Linked DNA regions of Homo sapiens: all the other regions are linked to region 1. Evidence: promoter capture Hi-C in 16 types of primary human blood cells and fetal thymus (Javierre and others, 2016). All regions are on one chromosome and are shown on one strand. The core of a region is centred on a gene start or on the middle of the fragment in contact, and the rest is flanking DNA. Distances in the headings are between cores, read along the strand shown. Region 1 holds the start of NDUFB11 (NADH:ubiquinone oxidoreductase subunit B11). Region 2 overlaps CLCN5 (chloride voltage-gated channel 5). Region 3 holds the start of SYP-AS1 (SYP antisense RNA 1).

Region 1 (4,003 bases), core at 1,043-3,542:
GGGCTGAAAGTCTTGCCTGAGATTCAGCACATCAGACAAGACTTCACAACAATGGGGGCCCCAGGCTCCTTCCACAGGCCCCAAGGGACCATCTCATCCTCCCAACAAGCTGCTGGCTGTCCCCTATAAGGCAGCAAAAGACCATGAAAGGCTCTTGGGGGGGTGTGTGAAGGGGCGAACTTGGCGACGAGACAGCTGCCACCTCCCTGGGCTCCTGGCCAACACAGCCTTGGCCCTCACACAGCAACTGGCTCAGCCCTGAGCCCTGTCTCTTATGTGCAGCCCGGTCCTAAGGTGGTTCCCTCCCCAGGGCTCAAGCCCGGTTTCCAGAGGCAAAAGGGGCCCTTTTGGAGGCTGTTCTGAACCACTGTGCTCTTCTATTGGGATGGAGCAGCAGCCACTTCATCCAACCCTCAGGGCTGTGGTGAGAACTCAGGGAGTCCTGAGAACCCTGTGACCCAGCCAGAGGTCAGGATGAATCCCAGATCTTCAGGCCCCACCCTCTGAATAAGAAGCAGGTAAAGCCAGGCAATAATAGCACCTGCTCAACACTAGGTTGCTGCCACACCTTTGCTCTATGCTCGTGCACACACATACACAGACAAACACACTCCAATTTTCTCTTCCTCCTCAAGCCACAGGGAACCCGAGTTACCTGCTCCCAGGTGGGCAAGAGTTAGAATCACACAGAGGCACTGGCGTCTGAGAGCACAAAAACCTTCAAGAGACTCTGGCAAAGGGGCCAGAGTCACACAGTAACATCCACCACAGCCAAGGGCCAGTCACAGACACGAGCCCCAAATAACTACGGGCCCACATCACAGAAGGAACACACAGTAAGGACCACAATTACACAGTGGGTCCCCTTTCCATGGATGAGCGTCAGTGTCACAGATACAAACTCCCCAAAAGAAGGGGCAATGAGTCACACACACATTCCCTGCATGCCCCTTCCCACCCAATAAGTGGGTTAGGGTCAATCAAAAGACAGTCGTCCCCCAAGCCCCGCCCCATGGATAAGGATCAGAGTCACAGACCGCCCCCCCTCAAAGGGTAAAGACCAGAGTCACATCCCCCCTCCGATCCCCCAGGAATAGAGACCAGAACCACAGAATATTTCCCCATGGACCGATAAACACCAGAGTAACACAGAGCAGCATCCCCTCTCCTATGCACAAACTCAAAGTCGCAGACAACCGCTTCCCCACTGATAAACTTCGATGTAGCCGACACAGTGATCCACAGTAGCCCACTCCCATCCGTCCCTCCCTTCCCCCAACCCGCATGCACCCATCCCATGTCCCAGTCGCGCACGCGCCTTTGCTCACACCAAAAAAAAAAAAAAAAAAAAAAAAAACCAAAAAAAAAAAAACCCTCCCGGGTTGAGACATTGCACCAACCCCTCCGTTCCGCGCATCTCCCCCGACCCGAAGTCCGCCCTCGCGCCTCCTCTACGTCCCCGCCCCGGGCCCCTTACCTCCGCCCCCACGACCAGCGTCGACGCTCACCTTCTCGGCCCGGGCTGTCAAGGAAGGGCTCCCAGACATCACCTCTGCCCGCCGCCACCTCCTCCAACTCTCCCAGCTCAGCCGGAGCCGGAGCGCGCAACAACCAAGTCCGAGACTGGAGGCAGATCGGGGGGAGGGGAGAAGCGCCAAGCGCGCTGCCCTCCCAGGGAAACTCACTGCCGCCTACTCCCAGCCGGCCACAGTCACCAGCTCAAAATGGCGACGACGAGAAGGGAGTCGGCGCTCCGACCACCATCCACCTACTAAGGAAGCGCGCTCTGGCCGGCCCCGGCGATTGGTCACCGCCCGCTAGGGGACAGCCCTGGCCTCCTCTGATTGGCAAGCGCTGGCCACCTCCCCACACCCCTTGCGAACGCTCCCCTAGTGGAGAAAAGGAGTAGCTATTAGCCAATTCGGCAGGGCCCGCTTTTTAGAAGCTTGATTTCCTTTGAAGATGAAAGACTAGCGGAAGCTCTGCCTCTTTCCCCAGTGGGCGAGGGAACTCGGGGCGATTGGCTGGGAACTGTATCCACCCAAATGTCACCGATTTCTTCCTATGCAGGAAATGAGCAGACCCATCAATAAGAAATTTCTCAGCCTGGCCGAAAATGGTTGGCCCCACGAAGCCACGACAACTGGAGGCAAAGAGGGTTGCTCAACGCCCCGCCTCATTGGAAAACCAAATCAGATCTGGGACCTATATAGCGTGGCGGAGGCGGGGCGATGATTGTCGCGCTCGCACCCACTGCAGCTGCGCACAGTCGCATTTCTTTCCCCGCCCCTGAGACCCTGCAGCACCATCTGTCATGGCGGCTGGGCTGTTTGGTTTGAGCGCTCGCCGTCTTTTGGCGGCAGCGGCGACGCGAGGGCTCCCGGCCGCCCGCGTCCGCTGGGAATCTAGCTTCTCCAGGACTGTGGTCGCCCCGTCCGCTGTGGCGGGAAAGCGGCCCCCAGAACCGACCACACCGTGGCAAGAGGACCCAGAACCCGAGGACGAAAACTTGTATGAGAAGGTGAGAGGCGGGGGGGGGGGGGGGGGTAGTGGGGACGGAACCCCGAAGGGGTCAGTCCGGGATCGGCAGATGGGGCGCTGTAGAGGACGTTCTTAGGCAGTAGAGGACTGCGCGGCCGGCGAAAGCCTAGAAGACTTGGGAATTTTGCCTACCTTGTGTTCCTCCTTTGTCTCTCGGTATCTTCGTTCCAGGGCCAGAGGCAGGATTGGTTTTATTTTGCAGACAGAAATCACACCTCAAGTGGACAGCGCTCAAAACACGTTAGAAGCAGTATAGTACAACGATAATACTAAACACCGATATGGCACTTGCTCGTTGCCGTCTGCATTCTTTTTTTTTTTTTTATAGGGACGAGATCTCGCTATGTTGCCCAGGCTGGTCTCGAACTCCTGGCTCAAGCGATCCTCTCGCCTCGGCCTCCCAAGGTGCTGGGATTACAGGCATGAGCCACCGCTCCGGGCCCCGTCTGTGTTCTAAACACTTGACATGCATTAGCTCATCTTATACTCGAAACAAACCCCATTTCGAGGTGGGCTCTATTATTATACTCATCCTACAGATGAGGAAACTGAGGCACAGAGATGTTAAGTGGATTGCCCTAGCTCACATAACTGAATACATGGTGGAGGTGGAACTGGTATTTGAATTTAGGGCTACCAGGTCTGCTGTGCTGTATTAATAGCAGACGCTGTGAAATCAGGCAGCACTGACGGTTACCCACCCGTGTGATCTTGGTAGCATAAACCCTTGGTGCCTCAGTTTCTTTGTCTGTAAGATGGGAACAGTAATAGGACACCTTCTAAAAAATAGGACACCCCACCTGCCTCATGTAATTAAATGAGTAAAAATGGTCAGAACAGCAGCTGGCACTTCGTAAGTATGTACTCAGCACTAGAATGTGTTTATTATTGCCATGTTTCACCTCACTGAGATATTGTGAGGTGTTTCTATGTGAAAAGACTGGCACATAATAAGTACTTCATCAATACTAACCTCTGGTTAAGGGGCTTGGATATATAGGATGCTTGTTCATTCTGTAAATATGTATTGAGGGCCTGCTGTATGCCAGGCTCAGTTCAGGGCCCTGGGGATACAGCAGTGTGGAAATCAGACAAAGCCCATGCTCTCATAGAGCTTACATGATAGTGGGGAAGACAGAAAATAAACAGTAAAATATTAGAAAACAATAATACAAAGTAGTATAATAGATAATATAACATGAGAATGTATGATATACAGAGAATGGGGAAAGTATGCTACTTAGGTAAACATAGACTAGAAAGAGACAGAAGGAAGAGAGGATGTGAAGACAAAGTTAAGCAAGATAAGTGGATAGAGAATGACTTGGGTGTAGGGGGCTATTTCATTAGCTTGAGCTATAAGAAATTGCCAGTATTCAACCATTTGTGACCTATAAAAATAGCAGTTTCCTATGCTTCAACTTTGAAAGACAAGGTAACTAGGGAGTGCCTCCTGAAGGAA
Region 2 (4,003 bases), core at 719-3,218, 2.8 Mb before region 1:
ACCTATATTTATTGCAGCAGTTCCAAAACAGGATTGTAATGCTCAGGTCTTAAGACTGAATCACAATTTGGGGGAATGGGGACCTGAGTAGGAATATTTTTTAAAGCACTACAGGTAATTCTGATGTCCCCTCCTTTATTAAGAAACATTATATTAACCCTTCTAAATTTATGCTGTCATTTTTTCCAAATTACTTCAGCATATGTGTTAAATAAATCATTTCATTAATTTGAAGTGCTACCTTTATCCTGGTTCTTAAGTTCCATTACAGTAGAGACCATACTTGTTTCCACTGACCATTGCGTCTCTAGGGCCCAGCAGAGTGCCTGCTGCACAAGTAGTGTTCAATAAATGTTAATGGAATAAATAAACAACACCTGACAACACAAGTCTCCAACCTCAAACTGGCTGGAGGTTATTAATGATAACCCTGAGTTATCAAAAATATTAAATTATGCTCAGTACACTGTTTAAAGTGGCCAGAAAATATATTAGAGGGCTCCATTAAGTGAAGTCAAAATAATGTTGGCCCCATTTAAGAGGTATGGGAATTCAGATCAAATTCTCCATGGAGGAACCAGACAGCAATGAGCCAAGAACCTAAGGAGATTTGGGCTCCTGTAGCCCTTAGGGTTCCTCAACAAGCTCTACAGACTGACTCAGAAGCTTCCTTGAGCTGAGAACAGACTCACACATTGCCTCTTCCATGAGCCCACGGAAAGAATACTGGAATAGGGAATTAGGTGACCTGGATTTTAATACTAGCTCTAGGATCAACTACTACCTGTTTGACGTTGGGCATATCACTTAACCTCTAGGAATTGAGCTAGATGTTTGTTGTTGTTTTTTGAGATGGAGTCTGGCTCTGTCGCCCAGGCTGGAGGGCAGTGGCACGATCTCGGCTCACTGCAAGCTCCGCCTCCTGGGTTCACGCCATTCTCCTGCCTCAGCCTCCCGAGTAGCTGGGACTACAGGCACCCGCCACCATGCCCGACTAACTTTTTGTATATTTAGTAGAGGCGGGGTTTCACCGTGTTAGCCAGGATGGTCTCGATCTCCTGACCTCGTGATCCGCCCGCCTCGGCCTCACAAAGTGCTGGGATTACAGGCGTGAGCCACCGCGCCCGGCTGCTAGATGTTTTCTAAGAATCTTTTCAAGTCTAAACTTCTACTTAAAGACCCAAACAGACAACCACAGGACAGGGCTTCCAAGGACAACCTAAAATTACCTCCACAGAACAAGGTCCCAGTCCCACCCCAGGTTATAAGAAAATAATAGTGATAGTAGTAATAACGGCTATTGCTAAATTTTACTGAGCACTTATTATATGCTACACAATATTCTAAATGTTTTACTATTATAATAATGGCATACACTTATATGGCATTTACTATGTTCCAAGTGCTCTGCATATATTAGCTTAATTTCTCTTCACACCAAGCCTATCAGGTGTTCTACTTTTCTCCCTTTTCAAAAATTGATATATAATAGCTGTACATATTTGGGGGGTATATGTGATATTTTGATACACGTATACAATGTGTAATGATCAAATCAGGGTAACTGGGATATTCATCACCTCTAACATTTATCTTTTCTTTGTGTTAGAAACATTCCAATTTTTTACTTCAAGCCATTTTGAAATATATAATTATTGTTAACTGTAGTCTCCCTACTGTACTATTGAATACTAAAACTTTTTCCTTCTCTCTAGCTGTATGTTTATAACCATTAACCCACTTCTCTTCATTCCCCAAACTCCTTCCCTTCCCAGCCTCTGGAAACCACCATTCGACTTTCTACCTTCATGAGATCCACATTTTTTAACTCCCACATATGAGTGAGAATATGCAGTATTTATCTTTCTGTGCCTGGCTTATTTTACTTAACATAATGACTTCCAGTTCCATCCATGTTGCTGCAAATGACAGGATTTCATTCTTTTTATGGCTGAATAATATTTTGTTGAATATATGTAACACATGTTTTTTATCCATTCATCCAGTGATGGACACTTAAGTTGATTTCCTATCTTGGCTATTGTGAGTAGTGCTGCAATATACATGGGAGTGCAGCTCTCTCTTCAATACTGATTTCCTTTCTTTTGGCTATATACTCAGCAATGGGATGAGTTATATTACTATCTCCATTTTGTAAAGGAGAAAACTTCCACACAGAGAGATTAAGTTACTTGCCCAAGGCCTCGTAGCTACCAAGTGACAGAACCAATGGAGTAGAACTCAGACCCACACATTTAACTATCATACCACACTGCTTCCAAACTATCATCGTACTTTGCTGGTTACTTCAGAGGTTAGCCAAAACAAAGGATAAGCTGCAGTTATCCAAAGAGCTTACTTATATAGAATACTCCCCTCTTCACTAATGCTGGAAAAATGAGGTTTCACTTCAATGTAATTTTAAGCACATCTGATTTCAGGGCCTGGGCTTGCAAAATACATTATTTACTATGAAAATATGACATTTTGATTAAGAGTTGTTAAACATTAAAATGTTTTTATTGTAAAATAAATCATTAACTAGTAATGACATTTCCATTAACTACAGAGAAAAAAATACAAGCTCTTTATGCATCATTAGGAACAAAACTTTAGATCCCCATCTGTGCCAATATCAGTTCTGTACTTTCAAAACTGTCTTTGAAACATTGACCTGACAGTACATAGGTGTCTCAACCCAAACAGGTCATCCAAATCCAGTGCACCACCCCCATGCCCATCAGCTGCCTCCCATGCTCCCCATCTCAGAGAATGGCACCAGTGGCCCCCAGGCACCCAAGCTGGTAGTTAATCCAGGCCCATTTCTTGCCACATCCAGTCACAGAACATTCTAGAATCCCATTCTAACCTTACTGCCCCTGCTTCTGCTCAGACCCTTACCATCTCTCCCCTAAACTATTCCAGAAACCTCCTGACTGACTCCCAGTTTTCATCATTTCCAGCTCAGCACTGCTGCCAAAGTAATCTTTCTAAAACAAAATCTGATTATGTTACTTCCCTGTTTAGAATCTTTGTCTTCAGGATAAAGTGTAAAATCCTTCCTAGAACATACAAGGCTCTTTATTATCTGGCCTCCAACTACCTTCCCTGCTTCATCTGAGGTCGCGCCCCTACACATCTCACATGAGGCAAACAGAGCAACTTGGAACTTCCCAAACAGTGCTGCTCTGTCTGCCCAGAATGCAATTCTCTCATTTGCTCCTACTCATTTTTTTAGACCAGCTCAAAACTCAGACTTCATCAAGCTTTTCTCGGGGCTTCCCTTGCTTTTTGTACCTCTCTATTCTAACACTTATTCAACATGGCAAAATTATTTGTTTGTATGTCTGTCTTTAGATGACAAGGAATCTTCTAGCATCCTGCAACTTATTCATCTCTGTATTTCGTTTGTTGAATGAAATAATGTCTCAGGATTTAAGCAAGAATATCCAAACTGCTCTTGATAAATGCCCATTGTGTGAGTCAAAGGAAGCATACAGGCCAAATCCCGTTTCCATAAATGTCTTCTCATTGATAATCTTTATACATGGAAACTACTTGTTACATTTGTGTGCCTACATAAAGTCACAACCAACACAATGAAACATTTTTAAAAGATACATTAGACCACCAACTAACCAACCTGCTGAATATTTCTAGATATTCAAGCTATTTCATTCCACTCCATTTAAGTGGTCTTTAACTTTTTGTGGGTCACAGGCCAATTTTGGTAGTGTTTGTCTATCATTTCTTAAACCCACACTCACTTTTGATAACAATAAAAATCCCACATACCCGTGGAGACTCCTAAACCCTCCAAAGGGCACAAACCGCAACTCCGCTCAAAATAAAACATAACTTTGTATGTGGTAGGAATTCACAAGTTCATGAGAGATGTAATACATCAGCTAAGATACTACTGAGCTTTGCTCTCAGGTAGTTCATATTATTAAAACAGGCGTTTTCCTTCTCAATGTTTATATTGTATCAAATATAAACACTG
Region 3 (4,003 bases), core at 1,002-3,501, 2.1 Mb before region 1:
CGCCTGCCACCACAGCCAGCTAATTTTTGTATTTTTAATAGAGATGGGGTTTCACTATGTTGGCCAGGCTAGTCTCAAACTCCTGACTTCAAGTGATCCACTGTCCACTTCGGCCTCCCAAAGTGCTGGGATTACAGGCATGAGCCACTGCGCCTGGCCGAAGTTGAGCATCTTAAGCCCCAACTGTATTTTGGATTTTGCATCATAGCCATCACTGTTGACCTTGATGGGCCTAGTTTTAGTCGCAGGAAGGAGGGTTATTCCAATTAAGAGAGAGCTAAGGAATAAATAGGTAAAGTGGTAGAGTTCGAGTAGGCATTAATTTGACAAAGAGGAAGAAAGAAATAAGGGAGATGGCTAGATGGGGGCAGGAGTTTCAGGGTGTGCTTAAAATGCAGACTATGAAAAAGGAACCTGGAAGGCCTTGAACCGTGTTTAAACTGCAGGGACTCTGGGCACTGCCAGCTAGTAGCTGGCTGACCTTGTGAGAGTCACTTAAGCTCTCTGGGGAATTATTTTCCTCGTCTGTAAAAACGGCCTAATAGTCCCTACAACGTAGGACTTCTGTAAGCATTAAATGAGTGAACATGTTTAACAAACTCAGAAAAGAGCCTGGCAAAGTTGTCACACTGTAGGACCGAGCAGGGAGGTCTCCTCTCCCCGGCCCTCGACTTGTGTTTTCCCAACGCATATTCCCGCACGCTCTCACGGCTCCAGCCTCCGGGCCGGAATGGCTGCCGGTGAGACTGTGGTACAACCCGCTGTGCGCAGGCGCGTGGCGGGCAAGGAGGGGGCGCGAGGGGCGGGGCTGCAGCCGCCTGGGCTGTTCCAACGAGCGCGCGCCGCCCCCGCCGCGCCCCGCGCCGCCCTTGCTAGCCGAGCCTCCCGCCCCCTGCATTGCTGATGCTGCTGCTGGCGGACATGGACGTGGTGAATCAGGTACGCGCTCCAGCACCGTGGACAGAGCCCGCCGCCGCCCGGCTGCCTAGGCCGGGTCGCTCAGGCCAGCCGACTCTGGGAGGTGGTGGCCAGGGTCTGGCAGCGGAGACCCGGTCCCCGGCGCTGGGGATGGGGGTCTGCGGCAGGTGAAGGGGAGGAAGGGGGAGGTGGAGAAAAGGAGTGCGCTCTTTGCCGCAGCGAGGGCCGTCCTCACTGCCGCAGCGGGGGCCCCCGGAGCCCCGTTTATTACTGGCGACCGCGAGGGGAGGAATAGGGGCCTGGGGGCTGGAGTGAGGGCAAGGGACAAGGGGAGGGGAGAGTGGAAGGAAGATGGGGGGTGCTGCGGATAAGCTAGGAAATAGAGCGACAGAAGGTGTGGGGGCGGGGATGGGGGAGAGGGCTGGCACCCGCCCCTCCCAAACAGAGACTGTACCCCCATAGGCGACCACCCCTTCCCCCAGAGCACACCTAGGGGACAATCCGGTTTTACTCCTTCCAAAACCCCCAGCCTCCTCACCCCCAACACATAGCGACTGAAGCCGTGTCCCAGCCCTCCCCCACCTTAATCAGTCCAGACCCTCTCCGCCATGTCTCTCGTCTTTGCCACCTCAGAAACTCACCCCCAATCAGTCCCAACCCTTCCCCATCCCCATCACCTCAAATATCTACCGCCACCGCCGTCTAACACACCTTTACCCCTGCAGACCCTTCCCCCACCTGAGCCAAACCGACTCCTGCCCCGTTATGACTCACCTTCACCATCACAACCCCCCCACCCGAATGCACCCCACTCCATCCCCATTCTCTACCCGAACCCCTTCCCCATCCGACTCGCCTTTACGTTTCAAACCTGCTCCCCCTCCTTAACTAGTCCTGACCTCATCCCCATCTCCCTCACCCCCGACTTCCTCTGCCATCTGACTCACCATCTCTTCAGACCTTCCCACCAGTCCTTGGACCCTGGGGCTCACACCATCCCCAAGGTGTCACTTTCTCCTTCTCACCCTCTCCCCGAGGTCACATGCTCCATCCCCTGGGGTCATTGATGGGCAGCCTTGCCGCTCACCTCCCTGTACCTCCAACAACCCCACCCCTTCCCCACTGTTTCTCTCCTCAGCTGGTGGCTGGGGGTCAGTTCCGGGTGGTCAAGGAGCCCCTCGGCTTTGTGAAGGTGCTGCAATGGGTGAGTGTGGTCCGGGCTGTTGGGGCAGAGTGCAGGGAGAGAGGGAGGTCATGGGGTCCAGAAGAGCAGGGGTGGAGTAGGGGCGAGTAGCCAGGGATGAGTGCGGGGGTTGTAGGGGATGGGGGAATTGGGCTCCAGGGTGAGGTTTCAGGGGTCTGAAGCCAGAAAACAGATGAGCTGTGACGTCACATAGGGCTGAGGGTACCCCCGTTGTGAAGTGGGAGACTGTGACGTCCTACCTCCTCTCTTGAAGTGAGGGAGGGGTGGGGGAGGTGGAGCCTGTAGCAGATGCTGGGTGAGAGATGCAAAGTCAGAGAAACCCAGAGACAGTGAAGGTGACAGAGAGAATGAGGGACAGGGAATGATAAAGACAGAGATGGAAATACTGAGAAAAAAAAAAGAAATATGGAGATGAGAAGAGATACAGACATAAGAGAGAAGAGACAAACAGAAACAAAGAAAAAGGAGACACAGAAAACAGATGCAAAGAGAAACAGACGCAGGGAGAGAGGCAGGAAAACAGGGTGAGGGAGAGAGAGACACAGAGAGAAAGAGACACTCAGAAAAAAGAGAAACCAACACACAGAGGCAAGAGGGAGACAGAGAGAGAACCATCCGGAGACCGAGTGAGAGACAGGACAGAGAGACAGAGACAAACAGACCAAGAAACAGAAAGACACAGACATACAGGCATACACTTACACAGACAGAGAAAAAAGAGACAAAAAGAGACATCGACAGATCAGATAGGCAGAGGCAGAGAGGATCAGAGACACAGAGAGACAAAGAGACATCTGAGAAAGACAAAGACACATAGAGAAACAGAGATACCGAGAGAAACAGAGACACAGTGAGATACACAGAGAACAACAGAGACAAACAGAGAAGAGGGAGGTCAGCATGGAAAGGCAGAGACAGAGAGAGACACAGAGAGAGAAACAGGAAGAGACAGCCATACCCTTGTAATCAGCTTGTCCTTGGTCCCGATGAGCCCTGATTAGGGGGTGGGGGTGGGGACTGCTCCATCTGCTGCTGCCTGTGCTGGGCCCCCGATCTGTCCAGAGGAGGGCACCTCCCTCCCACATGCACACAGGTTCACTGTGGCCATCCCCATCCCTGCTGCCCAAGGTCTTCGCCATCTTCGCCTTTGCCACATGCGGCAGCTACAGTGGGGAGCTCCAGCTGAGCGTGGATTGTGCCAACAAGACCGAGAGTGACCTCAGCATCGAGGTCGAGTTCGAGTACCCCTTCAGGTGTGCTCCCACCCTGGGATACCAACAGACCTGGGAGAGGAAGGGGCAGGGTGGAACCGGCCAATACCTCCCCCCGCAAGTAGCTCCTGCCCAGCTCCCACCTCGAGGCTACATCCACTGGGATCACTGAGCACCTGCCTTGTACCTGGCACTGCTCTGGACTCTAGGACTATGTGGTGAGCAAGGCAGACATAGGCTGTGGCCCTCTGGCTCTGTTCCAGCGAAGGGGTAAGGGACAGGCAATAAACAAGATACAAAAGTAAGACAGGTGTATATACATACCTTAACCCAGTAGGTACCCAATTAATGTTAGCCAATATTATTATTTAATCCCCATTCATTCATTCTATACACATTTTTGAGAACTTATTTTATATCTGGTACTACTCAAAGTGCTGGAAGCATGATAGTAACTAAAACAGACCCAACTCCCGCCAGGCACAGTGGCTCACGCCTGTAATCCCAGCACTTTGAGAGGCCGAGGTGGGCGGATCACCTGAGGTCAGGAGTTCGAGACCAGCCTGACCAACATGGAGAAACCCCGTCTCTACTAAAAATACAAAATTAGCCAGGCGTGGTCATGCATGCCTGTAATCCCGGCTACTCAGGAGGCTGAGGCAGGAGAATC

Evidence for each region. Contacts are between HindIII fragments. The CHiCAGO score rates a contact against its expected background, and 5 or more counts as called.
Region 2: a fragment that was not itself captured here is called in contact with the fragment with the promoter of NDUFB11 in region 1 in 1 of 17 cell types (monocytes); the score reaches 5.3 in monocytes.
Region 3: the fragment with the promoter of SYP-AS1 here is called in contact with the fragment with the promoter of NDUFB11 in region 1 in 1 of 17 cell types (neutrophils); the score reaches 9.7 in neutrophils.

Annotation. Positions count from the first base shown.
Region 1 is chrX:47,142,991-47,146,993 of GRCh38, reverse strand. It overlaps NDUFB11 (NADH:ubiquinone oxidoreductase subunit B11), which reads left to right and starts at 2,292. Exons shown (of 3, transcript NM_001135998.3): 1 at 2,292-2,521. The coding sequence starts at 2,315. RBM10 (RNA binding motif protein 10) reads right to left here and starts at 1,773. Exons shown (of 24, transcript NM_005676.5): 1 at 1,509-1,773. RefSeq lists an enhancer at 1,480-1,749. The HindIII fragment of the contact is 2,886 bases long and covers 1,948-4,003 here.
Region 2 is chrX:49,925,771-49,929,773 of GRCh38, reverse strand. The region is part of intron 3 of CLCN5 (chloride voltage-gated channel 5); the gene reads right to left. Among named protein-coding and RNA genes, the nearest start is that of CLCN5, 5.2 kb to the right of the region's middle. The HindIII fragment of the contact is 2,600 bases long and covers 669-3,268 here.
Region 3 is chrX:49,197,087-49,201,089 of GRCh38, reverse strand. It overlaps SYP-AS1 (SYP antisense RNA 1), which reads right to left and starts at 2,251. Exons shown (of 2, transcript NR_046649.1): 1 at 1,866-2,251. SYP (synaptophysin) reads left to right here and starts at 897. Exons shown (of 7, transcript NM_003179.3): 1 at 897-939; 2 at 2,057-2,122; 3 at 3,251-3,375. The coding sequence starts at 904. RefSeq lists silencers at 705-944, 1,015-1,064. The HindIII fragment of the contact is 12,908 bases long and covers 1-4,003 here.